2 separate regions of the Homo sapiens genome follow, and region 2 is linked to region 1. The links are contacts of gene promoters, found by promoter capture Hi-C in human tissues and cell types (Jung and others, 2019). All regions are on one chromosome and are shown on one strand. The core of a region is centred on a gene start or on the middle of the fragment in contact, and the rest is flanking DNA. Distances in the headings are between cores, read along the strand shown.

Region 1 (2,704 bases), core at 1-2,500:
TGATGGTCCATTACACACAGACAGTGAGACGTTCCGTAAGAGAGCAGAGAGAACACGGAGGAAGTTTGGAAGGTGCATGTCTGGGTTTGTGTAACAGTACTTATAGCATCACATTTTTATGCATCTGCACCCATACGTGCATGTATTGAAAATAACTGTGTTTCAAAGTGCTTTCTCACTCACTTCCTCATTTTGTACTAAGTGACTCGGGAAACAGGCAGAGGAGGTAAGATGATGTTTTCCAGAGGGGGGAAAGTGTGGCACAGATCTTGTAACTGATCTGCTTAGGTAGGAAACATAAACAGGCGTGAGTGGAACAAGAACACCCTGTCCGTCGCCGCCCACTCCTGCAGCAGAGGAAGTATCTAGAACTGAGGACGCACACTAAGTTCTGTAATCGCATGATACCTGGCAGGTACAATGAAGCCAGGAAGGCACTTCGGATTGAAAAGGGCAAGGACATAGGCAGCATTCTGGAGAGGGAACGTGAGCCAAGGCCATTCCCCCATTTCCGTTTTACCTCCCCAAGTCCTGCCTGAATCATCCCCCATCCTTAGGTCTGCCCAAACCACAACCATCCCTTAGGGTTCACCCCAGATATTTTCAACCCACACTGGTTTTTTTCATTCCATTGATTTCACCCCCACTAATATCCCAGAGAAGGGCAAGTGGCCGTTTCTCTCCTGGACATCATAGCAGGCCCAGCCAGCACACGGCTCGGCTCAGAGCAGGTAGTTAATAAACATGAGCCGAATGAAAGAATTCCTGAGATCGCCACCGCTCAGTAAGGATGCCCTGAGCCCCTACATCCCTCCCCCAACAGAGTGGGCCTGCCTGGCACGGGCGGCCTTAGCAACCCGGAGGAGCTCACTAACAGCAGAGAGCAAGGGGGCGCGTGGGGAGGGCGGGGTGGCCCAAGACGCTGGGCCACTGGGACCCGAGCGCGCGACCCCAGCCGGAATTCGGAGCTAAGGCTGCCGCGCTCCGGCAAAACGCGCTTGATGAGGTCGTTAAAGATTTCCCCCTCTGGAAAATCGCCAGGGAAAAGTGGTGAAAAACGAAGCCGGGAGGGCCCTAGTCTCGGGAGTCTAGGAGGAGCCCAACCCCCGGACCTAATGCCGCAGGGAGAAAAGACAGAGCAGCGAGCGCAAATACCATCCTAGCTCCAATAAAAGGGAACGACTTTTACCGCAGGAAGAACCTAGGCCTGGAAGCCACGCGAGATCTGGGGGTCGGGATCACGTTGCGTTGCCTAGCGACAGCAGGGACGCTCGTGGGACCCCAGGCTAAACCCCGCTGTAGCCTTAAATCTCCTACCATGGAGGAAGAAGGCGGCGGCCGCAGCTGTGGGACCACTAGGGAGCTGCAGAAGCTGAAGCAGCAGGCGATGGAGTACTACCGGGAGAACGACGTTCCGCGCAGGCTGGAAGAGCTGCTCAACTCCACCTTCTACCTCCAGCCTGCCGACGTCTACGGGCACCTGGTAGGGACCTGGGACAAGCGCTCTCCTCCCGCCAACCCCTCTCCCCCCGCCCCGCGCTGCGGCAACGCCTTGCGCCTGCGCCTGCGCCTCAGAATCTCGCATGCCAGCCGCCCGGGCCCTGGGCCTGCGTGTGCGGAGGAGACTTCTGGAGGGAAGGAGCGGGAAGGACACCCAGGGGTGAAGGGATCTCCCCAGAGAAAGTGGCAGAAAGGAGGCAGCTGGAGGAAAGAGGGCGCTAGGCGTATTTGACCTGCAGCGGCAGCCCAGGGGCTGGCAGGCTTCCTCGCTGCCTAAGAGGCCTCTCCGTTTGTGGGCCGGCCCACCGCCCATGCTTGCCAATTGTCATTTTTAACACATACCTTAATGCCCTCAGCTCAGCTCACCGACCTTAAGCAGCTCCTCTTTGATCACAGGATGAACACCTTGGCGTTTGCTACAACTTGGCTTCAGCCTATTCTGGGGCCTCATCCTACTGGCTCCTCTGCCGGGATGCCAGTTAATATCTGACCAGCCCCGCCCTAAACTCCAAAATTCAGACCAAAGCCTTGCCCACGTAGCCCTGGACCAACCGTCCTTCTGGGTTCCTACAGCATTTCCTTCGTGTATTGTAGTCTCTTGAGGCAGCCTCCCTAGGCAGCCTGTGAGCCCCTGCTGGGCTCAGAAGCCTTGTCTTCTCACCTTCCGGGTCTCTGCCCAGCCCTGAGATCTGGCACATACCTTAGCGTTAAGCAGTGAGCAGCTGAAGCAAAGACGTTTTCTCCCTTCCAGATCTATAAGTAGTAAGGAAGGCAGTGTGGCTGGGGCCCCTAGGAGTTTGCACTATGGCAAGGCAAAGCAAGGAGGCAATGTGAACACCAAGCAGAAGGAGTCCTATGAAGAGGCAGATGTGCTGTCAGGGTGCAAAACCACGTCGTATTGAGGCAGTTGATATAAAGGATGTTCCGCGAATGACTTTTTCCCACTCATGGCCTATACTATCAAAGGGGAGAGGTGTGGGGTTTACTGAGCCCCTTGTGCTGCGTACTGTAACTCAATCCTCAGTACCACTGCGACGAGGTAAAAATGATGATTCCCATTTTACAAATAAAGAACCTGTGGCCAGTGCAATTTAAATGATTTTCCCAAAGGACATAGTGACAGAAGAAAAAAAATCAAACCACATTTGTGTCCCTAGTACCCAGCAGAGTGCATGGCACACAGTGGATGCTGAGAAACTACCTG
Region 2 (2,704 bases), core at 130-2,629, 120 kb after region 1:
TAGTTCCAAAGCAATCTGAGGTCAGTGACAGTGGGTGTATGGGTGTACAGTTGGAAGACTGGCTGTGAGTTGGCAACTGTTGCAGCCAGAAAACTGGAACATGGGGATTCGTTAAATTATTTTCCCGCCTTTGCATCACTTTGAAATTTTTCATAGTAAAAAAATTTTAATGACCCTGAGAACATAGAAGTATAACATAAAAGTACATCAAGTATTGTTTCTATTAGTCTACTTGAATTAGCGAAGTTTGTCTCTCTTCAACTATGACTTCAAAGCAGTCTTACATAAATGGCAGTGTAGTACACATCACATTGTAGGGTAACTGTTTTTTTTTTTTTTTACTTGTTTTTATCTTCTACTCACTATGAACATTAGAGCAGGGATTTTGTTTTACATGTCTGATTCTCTTGCACCTAGCACAATGCTACATGCAAAGCAGGTGCTCGTGTTAGTGTCTATTTGAAGGACTGAAGGCCTAAGCTCGCCTGTGAACAGCCTTTTATGAGAATGTTCTCTGTAGTATAGAATTGCTTAGGAAACAACTACCATCGCCATTTGTTGAGCCTGACTATGTGTCCAGCCTTGTGCTAAACTCTTTACATGTGTTCCCTCCTTCACAAAGCCTCACAACAATCCTATAACGTAGGGATCATCACAGCAATTTTATATTTGAGAACACGGAGGCCCAGAGAAGTTAAATAACATATTCCAAATCACAGAGTTCTAACTGGTAAAACCCAGTTAAAACCATTTCTAGGTGACTCTACTTTTCTATAGTCCTTTCTAATTCATTATACAAGGTGTCACCACCAATGATGTTGCTTCTAGAGCAAATCTCTCCCAACTCTAACTCCCAGCGATATTTAGATGTAGAATATCTCTAAAGCATATGTGGTGAACATATCACAAATTCTTCTTCAACATCACACTACTTCAAAAGTTTTCCATGTGGTAAGGAAAGAGCCATGAAAGTTGGCATATATGTAGGAAAATCGGTGTGTCCTTAAAACAGATTAATGGATCTAATATTGTGGCTGAAAAGACATGAAAGGGGCTGGGCGCGGTGGCTCATGCCTGTAATCCCAGCACTTTGGGAGGCCAAGGCAGGCAGATCACCTGAGGTCAGGAGTTCGAGACCAGCCCGGCCAACATGGTGAAACCCTGTCTATACTAAAAATACAAAGTTAGCTGCCTGTAATCCCAGCTACTTGGGAGGCTGAGGCAGGAGAATCACTTGAACCCAGGAGGCGGAGGTTGCAGTGGGCCAAGAACACGCCACTGTACTCCAGCCTGGGCAAAAAGAGCAAAACTCCATCTCAAAAATAAATAAATAAATAAATAAAAAGATATGAAAGGTCTTTAGTTACCTTTCACAGGAATCCGGTCTAGGGAATGCAGCTTTGCTATGTAGTGGTGTTCTTTGTGTGTAGGAGGAAGGCTCAGAGAGAGCTGGCGAGGATCAAAAATGACATGGACATATGGATAAAAACATTTATCCTGGGAAAAGTATGCTAAGCTAGGGAGAGTAGAGCCCTATGGCCAAACAAAGCTTTTCCTAACCCTTAGTCAGCTGTTCCGTAGGCCTAGGCCGGGTGTGGTGGCTCACGCCTGTAATCGCAGCACTTTGAGAGGCTGAGGCAAGAGGATCACTTGAGGTCAAGAGTTCAAGACCAATCTGGCCAACATGGTGAAACCCCATCTCTACTAAAAATACAAAAAATAGCCAGGCATGAGGGCACACACCTGTAATCCAAGCTACTTGGGAGAGTGAGGCACAAGAATTGCTTGAATCCAGGAGGCGGAGGTCGCAGCGAGCAGAGATCACGCCACTGCACTGCAGTCTGGGCAACAGAATGAGACTCCGTCTCAAAAAAAGATGTAGGCCTAGTAGGTTAACGTTACAGGGATTTCAGATTTCAACTCAGCACCAAAAGAAACTTCCTCCATCACTATCCAAATGTGGAGTCTGGTGTCAAAGAACTAACTCCCTAAAGGTAAATGATATGAACTCTTAATACTGAAGGGCAATCAGGCATTGGATATTTTAGTTGATGAGATGGTGGTAGTAGCAACTAATATTTATTGAGCACTTACTATATGCCAGGTACAGTGTTAAGCATTTTTTATACAGATTATCTTTTTTCACCCTCAAATGGTATATGAAGCAAGGTCATTTATACCAATTTTATTAACGCAGAAATGGATTCACACAAACTAATGCTCTTCACTGGTGATAAAAATACTGCCTATTCCCTTCCAAATCTGAAATTCTACCCTCTGCTCAAAAGCCATGAATTATTTATCCCAGATACAGTTTTCTGACAAATATTTAAAGTTTTCTTAGTCCTTATTTTTTTTGTTTTTTTGGGGTTTTTTTGAGACGGAGTCTCACCCTGTCGCCAGTCTGGAGTGCAGTGGCAAGATCTTGGCTTACTGCAACCTCCGCCTCCCTGGTTCAAGTGATTCTCCTGCCTCAATAGTCCAAAATAGCTAGGACTACAGGTGCCCGCCACCACGCCTGGCTAATTTTTTGTATTTTTACTAGAGACGGGGTTTCACCGTGTTAGCCAGGATGGTCTTGATCTCCCTGACCTCATGATCCACCCGCCTCGGCCTCCCAAAGTGCTGCGATTACAGGCGTGAGCCACTGCGCCTGGCCAAGTCCTTGTTTTCTCTCCTTTTGAGACTGAGTAAAGAGTTGGCA

Evidence for each region. The method cuts DNA at HindIII sites, captures the fragments that hold promoters and counts their contacts. A contact is called where the count stands out against the background at its distance.
Region 2: a fragment that was not itself captured here is called in contact with the fragment with the promoter of ENO4 in region 1 in 2 of the 25 tissues and cell types used here (adrenal gland and aorta).

The regions. Positions count from the first base shown.
Region 1 is chr10:116,848,249-116,850,952 of GRCh38, forward strand. It overlaps ENO4 (enolase 4), which reads left to right and starts at 1,251. Exons shown (of 14, transcript NM_001242699.2): 1 at 1,251-1,483. The coding sequence starts at 1,319. It also overlaps a transcript of HSPA12A not described here. RefSeq lists an enhancer at 1-67. The HindIII fragment of the contact is 11,920 bases long and covers 1-2,704 here.
Region 2 is chr10:116,963,649-116,966,352 of GRCh38, forward strand. The region is part of intron 3 of SHTN1 (shootin 1); the gene reads right to left. Among named protein-coding and RNA genes, the nearest start is that of SHTN1, 40 kb to the right of the region's middle. The HindIII fragment of the contact is 3,633 bases long and covers 1-2,704 here.